2 separate regions of the Homo sapiens genome follow, and region 2 is linked to region 1. Evidence: promoter capture Hi-C in 16 types of primary human blood cells and fetal thymus (Javierre and others, 2016). All regions are on one chromosome and are shown on one strand. The core of a region is centred on a gene start or on the middle of the fragment in contact, and the rest is flanking DNA. Distances in the headings are between cores, read along the strand shown.

Evidence for each region. The method cuts DNA at HindIII sites, captures the fragments that hold promoters and counts their contacts. A CHiCAGO score of 5 or more calls a contact.
Region 2: a fragment that was not itself captured here is called in contact with the fragment with the promoter of GCLM in region 1 in 2 of 17 cell types (neutrophils and naive CD8 T cells); the score reaches 6.8 in neutrophils.

Annotation. Positions count from the first base shown.
Region 1 is chr1:93,905,345-93,913,086 of GRCh38, reverse strand. It overlaps GCLM (glutamate-cysteine ligase modifier subunit), which reads left to right and starts at 3,657. Exons shown (of 7, transcript NM_002061.4): 1 at 3,657-4,049. The coding sequence starts at 3,924. It overlaps LOC124904221 (a long non-coding RNA gene), which reads right to left and starts at 3,495. Exons shown (of 2, transcript XR_007066230.1): 1 at 2,933-3,495. RefSeq lists an enhancer at 3,134-3,293 and silencers at 3,334-3,573, 3,784-4,143, 4,194-4,243. The HindIII fragment of the contact is 5,335 bases long and covers 2,919-7,742 here.
Region 2 is chr1:93,305,140-93,312,881 of GRCh38, reverse strand. CCDC18-AS1 (CCDC18 antisense RNA 1) reads left to right here. Exons shown (of 9, transcript NR_034089.1): 9 at 1,274-2,773. Among named protein-coding and RNA genes, the nearest start is that of CCDC18-AS1, 37 kb to the left of the region's middle. The HindIII fragment of the contact is 3,233 bases long and covers 2,667-5,899 here.

The sequences.
Region 1 (7,742 bases), core at 2,408-4,907:
CCACGATCAAGTTGGCTTCATCCCTGGGATGCAAGGCTGGTTCAACATACGCAAATCAATAAAAGTAATCCATCACATAAACAGAACGAAAGACAAAAACCACATGATTATCTCAATAGATGCAGAAAAGGCCTTTGACAAAATTCAACAGCCCTTCATGCTAAAAACTCTCAATAAACTCGGTATTCGTGGAATGTATCTCAAAATAATAAGAGCTATTTATGACAAACCCACAGCCAATATCATACTGAATGGGCAAAAACTGGAAGCATTCCCTTTGAAAACTGGCACAAGACAGGGATGCCCTCTCTCAACACTCCTATTCCACATAGTGTTGGAAGTTCTGGCCAGGGCAATCAGGCAAGAGAAAGAAATAAAGGGTATTCAGATAGGAAAAGAGGAAGTCAAATTGTCCCTGTTTGCAGATGACATGATTGTATATTTAGAAAACCCCATCATCTCAGCCCAAAATCTCCTTAAGCTGATAAGCAACTTCAGCAAAGTCTCAGGATACAAATTCAATGTGCAAAAATCACAAGCATTCCTCTACACCAATAACAGACAAACAGAGAGCCAAATCATGAGAGAACTGCCATTCACAATTGCTTTGAAAAGAATAAAATACCTAGGAATCCATCTTACAAGGGATGAGACGGACCTCTTCAAGGAGAACTACAAACCACTGCTCAACAAAATAAAAGAGGACACAAACAAACGGAAGAACATTCCATGCTCATGGATAGGAAGAAACAATAGTGTGAAAATGGCCATACTGCCCAAGGTAATTTATAGATTCAATGCCATCCCCATCAAGCTACCAATGACTTTCTTCACAGAATGGGAAAAAACTACTTTAAAGTTCATATGGAACCAAAAAAGAGCCTGCATTGCCAAGACAATCCTAAGCAAAAAGAACAAAGCTGGAGGCATCATGCTACCTGACTTCAAACCATACTACAAGGCTACAGTAACCAAAACAGCATGGTACAAAAGAGAGATACAGACCAATGGAACAGAATAGAGGCCTCAGAAATAACACCACACATCTACAACCATCTGATCTTTGACAAACCTGACAAAAACAAGAAATGGGGAAAGGATTCCCTATTTAATAAATGGTGCTGGGGAAATTGGCTAGCCATATGTAGAAAGCTGAAACTGGATCCCTTCCTTACACCTTATACAAAAATTAATTCAAGATGGATTAAAGACTTAAATGTTATACCTAAAACCATAAAAACCCTAGAAGAAAACCTAGGAAATACCACTCAGGACATAGGCATGGGCAAGGACTTCATGACTAAAACACCAAAAGCAATGGCAACAAAAGCCAAAATAGACAAATGGGATCTAATTAAACTAAAGAGCTTCTGCACAGCAAAAGAAACTACCATCAGAGTGAACAGGCAACCTACAGAATGGGAGAAAATTTTTGCAATCTACCCATCTGACAAAGGGCTAATATCCAGAATCTACAAAGAACTTAAATTTACAAGAAAAAATCAAACAACCCCATCAAAAAGTGGGCAAAGTATATGAACAGACACTTTTCAAAAGAAGACATTTATGCAGCCAACAGACACATGAAAAAATGCTTATCATCACTGGTCATCAGAGAAATGCAAATCAAAACCATAATGAGATACCATCTCACACCAGTTAGAATGGCAATCATTAAAAAGTCAGGAAACAACAGGTGCTGGAGAGGATGTGGAGAACTAGGAACACTTTTACACTGTCAGTGGTAGTGTAAACTAGTTCAACATTGTGGAAGACAGTGTGGTGACTCCTCAAGGGCCTAGAACTAGAAATACCATTTGACCTAGCGATCTCATTACTGGGTATATACCCAAAGGATTATAAATCATGCTACTATAAAGACACATGCACAGGTATGTTTATTTTGGCACTATTCACAATAGCAAAGACTTGGAACCAACCCAAATGTCCATCAATGATAGACTGGATTAAGAAAATGTGGCACATACACACCATGGAATACTATGCAGCCATCAAAAAGGATGAGTTCATGTCCTTTGTAGGGAATGGATGAAGCTGGAAACCATCATTCTGAGCAAATTGTCGCAAGGACAGAAAACCAAACGCTGCATGTTCTCACTCATAGGTGGGAATTGAACCATGAGAACACTTGGACACAGGGTGGGAAACATCACACACTGGGGCCTGTCATGGGGTGGGGGGTTGGCGGAGGGATAGCATTAGGAGAAATACCTAATGTAAATAACGAATTAATGGGTGCAGCAAACCAACATGGCACTTGTATACATATGTAACAAACCTGCACATTGTGCACATGTACCCTAGAACTTAAAGTATTATAAAACAAAAAGTATAGACAAATCTTATTCAATCTTGAGTTCAGAAGATAGTTATATCGGGTTTCATTATAGTATTCTTGCTATTTTTGTATATGTTGGAATTATTTACAACAAATGTTAATTGTATGTTACAGTGCATCAAAATGTGTTTAAGTAGTGGTGGTGCTTGTGGGTAGCTCTTTCACTATAATAAAAAATCAATATCCAAAAAAAAAAAAAAAAAGCAGCGCAAGCTCGTTCAATGAACTCTTACCATCATTCATTCAGCCAACAAATATTTACTCAACATCAGGCTCAATTTCTAACTTCCTAGAAAGATCTTTTTTCCCATCCCTCCCCTAATTCTTACCATTTTACCAACTGGTTCATCTCTCTTTTCAATAGCTATATTGTCCCCGCTTATAATGAGAATCTCATTTTGCCTTTAATAATCTGATTCACCTCAACGAATGTGAAAGATTGTTGAGGAAAGCTCAATACATGTTCAATTTGATGTTTATACCGAGTCCACCACCACACGTGAAATTTAATAGGGGTAAATAATCTCGACCACCTCTAAAGGGGTGGGTGATAAAAGCTTTCTGTGATCTCACCGGCTCAAGTGTCCTCTTTAATCTGAATTCATCTGGAGAATAACTGCCCTATGATGTTCTTATAAAATTACTTGTTTCCTGTGCTTAGAACTTGTCTCTGGGTAGAGTGTACGCGTCTCAAGGGCAAAGACTCAGTCTTGTTCGTTGACTTCACACACTGCCAGCAAATAATGTGAATCAATAGACCTTTAACGGATGAAGAAAAATTAGCAGTTTGGGAGAAGGTCCTTGAAGGTAGCAAAGCGAAAAGAAGAAGGGGGCGCTTGCGCATAAACAGCTGCTTCTGAGAACGAAAACTACGTAGCATTTCCGAGTCCCGGTGGCCGCTCAGGCTGCCCTTTAAAGAGACGTGTAGGAAGCCCACCCTGGGGCGGCCGTGGGCGGAGCCGCGACCTGAACGCCGGGAGACCTCACCAGGCGGAGGCGGTGTCTACCTCACCAGGCGGAGGCGGTGTCTGCCTCGCGCTGTCCTCTGACCGCCAGGGGGAGCCCTGCCGCGCGCTGCGCTCCGGGCCGCGCCGCCACGCTCTCTCGACCCGCGCGCCCGCCGCGCACCACCCGTCGCCACGCCCGCCGCAGGCCAAGGGCCAGTCACTTGCGGGCCGGCGTCCCGCAGCCCATTCGCGCCCCGCCCCTGCCCCGCCGCGGGATGAGTAACGGTTACGAAGCACTTTCTCGGCTACGATTTCTGCTTAGTCATTGTCTTCCAGGAAACAGCTCCCTCAGTTTGGAATCAGCTCTCCCGCTGCGGCCGCAGTAGCCGGAGCCGGAGCCGCAGCCACCGGTGCCTTCCTTTCCCGCCGCCGCCCAGCCGCCGTCCGGCCTCCCTCGGGCCCGAGCGCAGACCAGGCTCCAGCCGCGCGGCGCCGGCAGCCTCGCGCTCCCTCTCGGGTCTCTCTCGGGCCTCGGGCACCGCGTCCTGTGGGGCGGCCGCCTGCCTGCCCGCCCGCCCGCAGCCCCTTCGCTGCGCGGCCCCTGGGCGGCCGCTGCCATGGGCACCGACAGCCGCGCGGCCAAGGCGCTCCTGGCGCGGGCCCGCACCCTGCACCTGCAGACGGGGAACCTGCTGAACTGGGGCCGCCTGCGGAAGAAGTGCCCGTCCACGCACAGCGAGGAGGTGAGCGTGGCGACACTCGCCGCGGGGCTCCCGGGGCAGGCCTCGGGCGGGGCCGGGCGGTTCCGGCAAGGGAGAAGCGCCCGCGGGCGAGGGAGGGTGGCAGGGCCTCGCGCGCACCTGGGCTCCGCCCGCGGTCAGATGCTGAGGCCAGTGTCGACGCGACCTTGGGTCCAAACCCGCTGCCGAGGGCAACGCGTCTAAAAAACTTAGCCGGTGCAGCTGCGCACTGAGTGACACCTCTCTCGGTGCTTAAGGCTGGTAGCAAAACTCTCAAACATCCTGGGTCCCTCTTCCTGGCACGGAGGTCACAGAGGGCCAGGACGTCGCTCCGTCTCTCTCCACATCTCTCGCTTCCTTCCCCCACCCTGTCCAGGTAAAGGAATATTTTCGGAGATTATCCTTTGGTGCATTCAGATGAAGTAGTATTCATAGTACACCTAACTTTTAGAATGTTGACATTAGACTCTCTATTGCAGTGAGGCAAATGAGTAAGCACTCAATTTTGGCTTTGGAATACCCTAAATACCCTGACTTTAGTCATTACACATTTTATGCACTTATCTGTGCGTCTATGTATGCTTTATCAGTACACATTCTATGCATGTAACAATATCATTGTACATTCTATGCATGTAACAGAATATCACATGTGCCCCATAAATATGTACAAATATAATCTATCAATTCAAAAATTAAAGTTTTGTAAAAACTGGAAAATAAAAAGACTAGTCACTAGTTGGAGGTGACAGAGATTAATCTGGAATTACAAACTTGTTACCTATTTGTTGGCCATTTCTGAGCGGATAGTCATCCACTGCACATTGTGCATATTGGTGGTATGGGACAATTTTAGTATTTAAAAAATAACAAAATCTTTAGATTTAGGAGCTATATGACTTTGGAAAATTACTTTAAAGTTGGATAATAACACCTTCCTCATCAGGTTGTTGTGAGAATTAAGAGGTAATATATGAAAACGCTCACCATGCAGGCATCTATCTCCCTGTCATCTGGTTCCATCAGAAAGATAAATCTTAATTAAGAGAAAAACCTTCCTAAACTATGTGTGTTTAGAAAAACCTTCCTAAATCAGCTGTGTTCCTAAGTGGTTTCTGCTCTCTTCTATGAGATGTTGGTAACAGACCATGCAGCAGCACACGGCATCCCTCTGAGTTAAGTGCTGGACCTGTGCCCAGGCCTGTTGTTGGGGTCAGTGCCCATCAAGAGATGAGAACTCTTGCTTGTAACTTTAGTAGGAATCTGAGTCTGTACCATATTCTGTGTTCACGTTCCAGCTCAGTGTGTATGTTTTGTTTTATTTAAACCACCTACTTTGGCTGTTTCTCCCACAGATAAATATTTCTGTATTCGGTACATAGACTCTTAATTTCTTCCAGTACTGTTGGTGGTAGTTCAATACAGAATTTTGCACGTATATTGATATTATTGGGTGAAATTTTACCTATCTCACAATAGCATACTCTAAAGTAGTGACTCAAAAGAGTTTCTGACTGCAAACACAGTAAGAAGTACATTTTACTTTGCAATCCAGTTAATAGTTGTATAATCAGTATATCTGAAACAGGTTTCACAAAAAGATATTAGCCCTTATACCGTATATTCTGATTTTTTCTTTTATTTTAATTTTTAAAATGTTGATTTCTTGATGCTCAGAGTCACACACCACAGTTTGTAAAACATTGTTCAAAGGACTAATTCTGGTTTCTAGTGTTTTATTTAGGGTGCTTCATAACAGTAGGATAAAACTAAAGAAACTAGAAAACATTTCAGGAAAACTTGAAGGAATGGCATCATACTGTAGGGAAACTATGACTGCTTGGTAAGAGCAAAAGGGGAGGCACATTTTGTTTCTATGTAAAAGAACTTTGTAACACCCAGAGCTCCAAATTGGGATGTACTACTTGGAACAGTTCCGCTTCACTGAAGAAATTAAGTAAACTGAACAAATCACTTATTTTTGAGAAAATGTACGTGTTGGGTCAAGAGTTCAGTTAAATTTCTTACAAGGTCTCTTCTAGTTCTAATTTTTTAAAAAATGTTATGACCTCTGCCCAGATTTTTTGTCTCACTGGAATTTTATGAAATCAAATAGTTTGTAAGTGGACCATTATAGGACTGTTTTGCCCAGTTCTTTGTTGTAAGGGTGTTTGACCGGTTGAATCATGGTATTTAAAAAATTCTTATACAACTCCAGATCTAATGGTAGGCTAAGTTGTGGTGATGCTTATACTCAGTGATATTGGGTGTGTATTATAAGAATGAAGAGAGCGGAGAACAAACATAAACATTAATGTTAATGACAAACATTAACCCAAGTACAAGGTTAATGTTTAGTCAATATAGCAAACATGTAATTTACAAGATTAAAAATAATTAGGCTTGTGATAAAGTCAATGAATTTCCTACGTAATTGTAACATTAGACTGTTTTATTATTTGTCCTGACATTTTGCAGAATCCAAGATTAATTAAAGAAATGGTTTCAAGAAGAGGGTGAATACTATAAAAATAGACTTACCTTCCTGAATTGAGGAATTCATCAGGAAAGCCTCAAGTGTGCAAATGAGCCATCCTTCCAGAGGGAAATTTCTTAGAATTATCCCACGATTTGAGCCAAAGCACTTCCGATAGAATTTTTAACCTCTAGTTGGTTCTGCTCCTTCCATTTTTACTAATTTTTAAGAAAATACTATGACTTATAATTGTATCTGGAATGATTATCAACTCCTTTTCATCCACTGACTTAAATTTGATTATAAATATGCTTTACATAAAGATCTAGACCTTATAATTTGAATTCAAGTGAATTGTTGTGACTAGCATGTAAATTATTATTATGGATTGTAAATCTTAACATAGGTAGTTCTGTGCCCTTAAATTGATAAACCAGTTATCTCTTGTAATCATGTGTACTAAGATATACGTAGTAAAGTGATTGTATCAGTTTTTATCATAAGCAGTCATAGTTCAGATAGTTCAGAAGTTTAGTGTCTGCTGTTTCTATTAGGAAAGTGCTTTTGCAATTCAGGGGCTTGCCTCTAGTTACTCATTTGTGTTTTCATTGATTGCCCACAGAAGAATGCAAAACACTGTGTCCTTGGTTATCTAATAAGGCAGTGATTTCAGATTGCCAGGTTTGGCCCATTAGTGGTCATAAATCAGTTCAGTGAGTCATGGACCAGTATATTTTTTCTAATTAATATATTGGAAGCCATTAGAGTGCCTGGCATGTTGTGAGCATAAATACCGCTTTATGACTGTTTTGTTCCATTATATGTATATAGGTCTTTGCTCACTATGTGAATGTATGTCTTACTTTGGACTACTATCAAATAAGTCTGAAATACACTTTAATAAAGTATGTTTGAATTAATTTACAACATACTATAATATTTGTATAAATTTTTTTTTGTTTATCTAAGAAAACATGGAAGATAGGTTAGAGGTGCACCTAAATGTTACGAAATGACTTCTGGAGTGTCATACAAGTTGAGTTCTGCAAGATATGTCTATCCTGGTGGTTCTCAGACTTTAGAGTACGTAGATAAAGTACTCTCCTTAGGATGCTTGTTAAAATGAAAGTCCAAACTGCTCTTGGAGAATGATTCAGTGGGTCTAGGATTAGGCTCAGGAGTCTGAAATTTTAATAAACAGCACAGGTGAATCTGAGGTA
Region 2 (7,742 bases), core at 3,034-5,533, 600 kb after region 1:
GTGTTCTAATCTGGAGAATGTTCCATGTGCTGATGAAAAGAATGTGTATTCTGTAGCAATTGAGTGAAATGTTTTATAAATGTTAGTTAAGCCTATTTGGTCTAGTGTGTAATTTAACTCTGATGTTTCTTTGTTGATTTTCTGTCTGCATGATCTGTCCATTACTGAGAATGGGGTGTTGAAGTCCCCTGTTATTATCATATTGCAGTCTATCTCTCCCTTTAGATCTCTCTTTTTTTTTTTTTTTTTTTTTTTTTTTGTAACGGAGTCTCGCTCTGTCGCCCAGGCTGGAGTGCAGTGGCACAATCTCGGCTCACTGCAAGCTCCGCCTCCCGGGTTCACGCCATTCTCCTGCCTCAGCCTCCTGAGTAGCTGGGACTACAGGCGCATGCCACTATGCCCAGCTAATTTTTGTATTTTTTTTAGTAGAGATGGGGTTTCACCGTGTTAGCCAGGATGGTCTCGATCTCCTAACCTCGTGATCCGCCCGCCTCGGCCTCCCAAAGTGCTGGGATTACGGGCATGAGCCACCGCGTCCAGCCCCCTTTAGATCTCTTAATGTTTGCTTTATATACTTGGGAGCTCCAATGGTAGGTGCATAGATATTTATAACTGTTATATCCTCTTGCTGAATTGACCCTTTTGTCATTATATAGTGACTTTCTTTGTCTCTTTTTACAGTCTTTGATTTGTAGTCTATTTTATCTTTTAAGTATAGTTAATCCTGCTCTTTTTTGGTTTTCATTTACATGGAATATCTGTTTTCCACCTCTTCACTTTCAGTCTATGTTTGTCTTTATAGGTGAAGTTGTGTTTCTTTTAGGCAGAATATAGTTGGGGCTTGTTTCTTTATCCATTCAGCCACTCTGTGCCTTTTAATTGGAGAATTGAGTCCATTTACATTCAGTGTTAATATTGATAAAGACCTACTACTGCCAATTTATTACTTGTTTTGTAAACTCTCTCTTCCTTTCTTATGGTTTTCCTTTGTGGGTAAATGATTTTCTCTGGTAACGTGTTTTAATTTGTTGCCTTTTATTTCTCATGAATCTATTATAGGTTTTTGTCTCGTGGCTACCATGAGTCTTCTAAGAAAACATCTTATAGATACAACGAAAGTTATTTTAAAGGGATTATAATTTATCTTGTCACAAAAAATGCTAATAGACAAAAAAAGAAAAACAAAATCTCAATAATTTAATTCCATGCCCCCTACATTTTAACTTTATGTATTCTCTATTTACATATTTTTATATTTTCTATCTCTTAACAGGTGGCTGTAGCTACCTTCTGCATATGGATATCCAGTTTTCCCAGCACCACTTATTAAAGAGACTGTCTTTTCTGCAGTGTATATTCTTGGCACCGTTGTTGAAAATGAATTCATTGTAGGTGTGTGGGTTTGTTTCTGGGTTCTCTATTCTGTTCAACTTGTCTATGTGTCTGTTTTTATGCCAGTACCGTGTCATTTTAGTTACCAGAGCTCTGCAGTATAATTTGAAACCAGGTCATGTGATTCCTCCAGTTTTGTGGTATTAGGATAGGTTTGGCTATTCTGAGTCTTTTGTGGTTCCATATAAATTTTAGAATTTTTTTTTTCTATTTCTGTGAAGAATGTCATTGGTATTTTGATAGGGATTGCGTTGAATCTGTAGATTGCTTTGGGTAGTATGGACATTTTAACAATATTCATTCTTCTAATCCATGAACATGGAATACCTTTCCATTTTTTGGTGTCCATTTCAATTTCTTTCATCAGTCTTATACTTTTCATTATAGAGATCTTTCACTTCTTGGATTAACTCCTATGTATTTAATTTTACTTGTAGCTATTGTAAATGGGATTACTTTTTTTTTTTTTTTTGACGGAGTTTCACCCTTGGCATCCAGGCTAGTGTGCAATGGCGCAACCTCAGCTCACTGCAACCTCCACCTCCCAGGTTCAAGCAATTCTCCTGCCTCAGCCTCCTGAGTAGCTGGAATTACAGGTGCCCGCCACCACACCCGGCTAATTTTTGTATTTTTAGTAGAGACAGGGTTTCACCACGTTGGTCAGGCTGGTCTTGAACTCCTGACCTCAGATGATCTGCCCACCTCGACCTCCCAAAGTGCTGGGATTACAGGCATGAGCCACCACTTCCAGCAAGGGATTACTTTTTTAATCTCTTTTTCAGATTTTTCACTGTTGGCATATAGAAATCCTACTAATTTTTGTATGTTGATTTTGTATCCTGGAACTTTACTGAATCTGTTTATAATTTGTGTATTTGTTTATAGTAGTTTTTTGGTGGACTCTTTCAGTTTTTCCAAATATAAGATCATATCATTGGCAAACAAGGACAGTTTGATTTCTTCTATTCCAATTTGGATGCCTTTATTTCTTTCTGTTGTCTGATTGCTCTAGTTAGGACTTCCAGTACTATGTTGAATAACAGTGATGAAAGTGGGCATCCTTGCCATGTTCCAGATCTTAGAAAAGAGGCTTTCAGTTTTTCACCATTCAGTTTGATACTAGCTGTGGCAGCTTCCATGAGAATCACGCAGTTTGAAGAAGCATTTCACTGAAAAATAGGGATTGCTGTTCTGGAAAGACAAAACAATTGTCTACAATTCTAAAGAAGAAGTGAACACAATAATTAAATCAATGTTATTCTGGGTCTAAAGCTTATATTCTTAATTACTATATTATCCCATCTTAAAATTTTAATTTGGAAATTATATATCTAAATATTATAATCAATAAAGTTGAACACACATGATGAAGTGTGAAAAGAAGTAAAAAACAGATGTGTGAAATGATTCCATAATTATTAATGTGCTTATGTTTCAAAGAGTTTTCACAACCCAACAAAACTTACCCTCTCTGGGGCCTTTGTAAAAACAAACAACAACAACAAAAAACTCATTCTCCATTCTTCCACCTGCTCCACAAAACAAAAATGCATCTTATTCACCTTAGAATCCACAGGTACTTGGTAGAGGCTCAAAAAATGTTTATTTAGTAAAACCAAAATGTCTTCCAAAAAATAACAATAGTTCTTTTCTTTTTCTTTTCTTTTCTTTTTTCTTTTTTCTTTTTTTTTTGATACAGAAACTCACTCTGTCACTCAGGCTGGAGTGCAATGGCACGATCTCGGCTCACTGCAACCTCTGCCTCCCGAGTTCAGGTGATTCTCCTGCCTCAGCCTCCCGAGTTGCTAAATTACAGGTGCTCAGCACCACACCCGGCTAATTTTTCTATTTTTAGTAGAGATGGGGTTCTGCCATGTTGATCTTGCTGGTCTCGAACTCTTGGCCTCAAGTGATCTGCCCACCTCAGCCTCCCAAATGCTGGGATTACAGGTGTGAGCCACCACGCCCGGCCAAGTAACAATATTTCTGGATATAATACCTGAAAACTCAGCGCAGAAAGATATAAAGGGATAAAAAATTTATAATATAGTCATTACAATGGAATAAAATGAAATATAAAGCAATAAAAAGGAACGGACAGCTGATATATGTAACAATATGGATGAATCTCAAAAGCAATATCAAAAGATCAAAAGGGTATATATTACATGATTCCATTCTGGAAAAGGCAAAACTATAGGGACAGAAAACAAGTCAATGATAGGCAGTGGGCCGGGGGGGGAAGTGATTTATTATAAAGAGGCATGAGGAAACTTTAGGATGACATAAATGTTCTATGTCTTTATATGGTGGTGGGTACATGACTGTATACTTTTGACAGAGGTATATCTAAAAGGGGTGAGTTTTACTGTGTATAAATTATACCTCAATGAACCTGACTAAAAAAAAAAAGATGTAAAAATCTTAATATAACACTCTTTGTTAATTTACCTAAAATACACCTATTAATTTTGAAGTAAATATCAGAGAATTTCACAGAAGCTATAAAAGCAATTGTCCTGCCATTAGCACAGTCAAATAATCATTTAACTATAGCATTTCAAAGATACAGTTAATTCTAACTATTTATTTGCTATTGTTTTTGGGAAGAACATTTTGTACATGAAAAGGAGGTGAGAAATGAGATATGGGCTTTAATTTGGGAGAAATACATGGAGCTAGGAAATGGAAAGGAATAAAAAAATGAGCTTTCTTCTATGAAAGGTACTTAAGGGCTGGGCGCAGTGGCTCATGCCTGTAATTCCAACAGTTTGGGAAGCCGAGGTGGGCAGCTCAAATAAGCTCAGGAGTTTGAGACCAACATAGGCAAAATGGCAAAACTCCATCTATACAAAAAATACACCAAGCGTGGTGGTGTGTGCCTGTAGTCCCATTTACTTGGGAGACTGAGATGGGAGGACTACTTGAGCCCAGGAAGCGGAGGTTGTAGTGAGCCAAGATGGTGCCACTGCACTCCAGCCTGGGTGACAGAATGAGACCCTGTCTCAAAAAAACAAAGAAAGAAAAGAAAAGGTACTTAATATCTTCAAATATTCAAGATCTGAATGAGAAAAATGTAATTTTAGGTCAGGTGTATATAAAAAGTATCCAGCAATTTCATAGCTACTTATCTTCATGGACTGTTTCCTTGGTTGGTTATCTCTGTCACTGTTCATATCACACCGAGGGTTGTTACCTGCTGGCTTTCACATCTTCCTGTTCTTTCACTCATTGACTAGACTTTTCACTCATTTAATCACTGTTTTCAAACATCTCTATGTGCCAGACACTGGAGTAGAGATGCAAGGGTGAGTAAAACACATGAGATCCCTGCCCTTTCATTACATTTAATGAGAAGAGAGACAAAAAAAAAAAGTGGATACTTTCAGATTATGTTAAGTGTTATGAAGAAATAAAACAGGGTAATGGGGCTCAGAATGACTTTGCAGGTGAGAGATAGGTGGCTGGAATATTTTAGATAGAATGGTGAAGGGATCTGAGGAGACAATTTGTACTGACAGCTCTGGGAAGTGAACAAAGAGAAGGAGCCAGCCATGGGAAGAGTTCCAGCCATAGGAAACAATAAGAGCAAAAGCCTGAGACAGAAATGCATTTGACATTAAATGAGAGGGCTGTAAAGCAGGCCTATGTGGCCAGGGTGCAGTGAACAAGGGGAGAGTGGTAGGAAAGCTATGCAGGTCTTAGAGGCTTTGGAAAAGAGCTTCAGTTTTTTTCTAAGAGCGATGGAAAATTATCATAGGGTGTTAAGTAGGGCAGAGATGTGGTTTTGTTTTTAGAAGGCTCTCTGGCTTCTCTAATAGTGGGCAAGAAGATAAACCTGGAAAATAATTAGATGGCCACTGCAGTCATCCAAGCAAGACATGATGACTTGGACTAGGGTGGTAGCTGTCACAGTGGTGAGAAGAGGTTTGATTCAAGTTCTTTTTTACATATGGGGCTGAAAAGACTTGCTGATGGATTGGTTTGAAGGTGGTGAGAGGAAGTACTAGGTGAGTGGGGATGCTTTATTCAAGATGTACAAAACTGGAAAAGGAGAAATTCTGGAAGAAATTCTAGAGAAAAGGAAATTCTGGAAAGACCAATAATTTTTCTCAGTCTTGTTACATTTGAGATGCCTTAAGAAATACAAGTGGAGATGTGAGAAGGCAATTAAATATTCAAGGAGATTAGGGGGGTTGAGTAGAGGAAGAAGTAACCAAGAAGAAACACCAGTGAAATAGGAGGAAAATTGAGAGCATATGGTTACAGAAGCCAACTACAGAATGGATTTTAAATAGGAGGAAATGGTCACCTCTGCCAAATTTAGAGTGGTCAGATAGGAGAGGACTGAAAATTGACATAATCTTTGGCAAGGTCAAAGTCACTGGTGACAGATCTGGTAAATATTATTTCAGCAGATGCAATGAACATATAATTGGAGTGGGTTGAACAGAGAAAGAGAAGTTAGAAAGTAGAGAGAGCAAGTATAGGCAACTCTTGATAAGCTTTACTGTGAAGGCATGCTGAGATAGAGGGCAGAAGCCAGCAAGGATGGAGAGTCTAGAGAGAGTTTAGTCAAGCAAGACAATACTAAGGCATGATGCAGAAAAGAGGACACATAATGGCAGGAGTGAAATCCTCAAATAGGCAGGAGGGCATGGGATCCAGAGCCCTGGAAAGGACAACCTCATTGTGAAAGGAGGGAGAACATGTATTCAGATTCAGGTAGGTTGGTAGATTCGATGGTGGGAAGATATAATTACTGCCTGAGGCTTCTGTTCTTTCAGTGAAGTGTAAATTGAGATCACCAGTTGAGAGTGAGGAAAGATGAAGTGTTGGAGGTTTGAGGAGAGAGGAGATGTGAAATAAATAACTTGGAGAGTCAGAGATAATGTCATATTCATATTTGTATCCCAGCATCCTACCACAGTGCCTGGCACATAGGAGGCACTGAAAAACAGTTTTGAAGAATGACTGAAAGTCAGAATCAGAAAAGAAAGAACAATGATACACACTTAAAACTTACATCTTAATACAAGAATAACATATTTGTAGAATATCTTGGTTTATAAATGTTTTAGCATCTACTTGAATTTACTCAATAAATTCCAGAATACTCGAGGAAGGAGGCATACTTGCAAAAGGTAATTTAAGACAAGATGACCTCTTTACACTTTATTTACAAGAGCACCTTTCTCATTAGGCTGATTTTTTCAAGAGTAAGGAGATGCTGTCTTTTCATCTTAATATTCTCAGGACATGCATTAAATAGTGCCTGGCACAAAATTAAGTGCACAATAATGCTTTTTCGGTTTTTTGTTTGTTTTTGAAACAGGGTCTTGCTCTGTCACCCAGGCAGGAGTACAGTGGTGTGATCACAGTTTACTGCAGCTTCAACCTCCTGGGCTTAAGTGATCCACCCCAGCCTCTCAAGTAGCTGGGACTATAGGCATGTGCTACCATACCCAGCTAATTTTATTTTTTGTAGAGACGGGGTCTCACTATGTTGCCCAGGCTGGTATCAAACTCCTGGGCTCAAGCAATCCTCGTGTATCTCCCAATGTATTAGGATTACAGGTGTGAGCCACCACATGGGCCAGTAATGCTTTTTTGAATAAATAAATGACTATAATCACATGGAGCTTCTAATCTCCAAAGGATTTACAGGCTGAAATAGAAAAGTCTCCAAAAGAATTTAAATACTTCAGGGATGAAAAGCCAAAGTGGATTGATTATAAAGACAAACAGATGCTTTAGGGACATTTTAAGGGAGTCACAATATGCAACCAAACATTTCCACAAAACTTTCTTTGTAACATTGTTTCAAGAATAAAAACCTAAATGATTTTGGGTCTCACTAGCATGGCAATTTTTATATTTGTTTGAGTTTATAGGCTCTTTTGACCTTTTCTCTATAGTAGTAATAGATTTTTGTCCTTTTGCCTAACACTGTGCATTATAGTGAACTACATTCCCAGATACCTTAGAATCACCCATGTTTATCCCTTTCCTCCTCTAGGAGGGCTCTGAGAGATTTCATTTCTGTCCTGCTGATGAAGTCTACGTTCATTCAGGGCCTGCTGTGGAAGACCAGCCCCAAAGGTGTGTTATACTAAGTAGGCAGATTCTATCTCCATCTAATTCCTAAGTTAGGCTTTTCTTACTCCTAGAGTTCTGTATAGCATGGCCTTCTTATTTCTTGTAACATTGCTTTTGGGAATAAAATGTTTGAAGAAAGGAATATAAAGAAGAAAAAATGCTGGGGAATATATAAGGGAAAAAGAACAAAGGTTGAAAAACAGAAACAGAGAAAGGGAGGAAAGATAAATCTGACCACTTTAAAGTCAGTC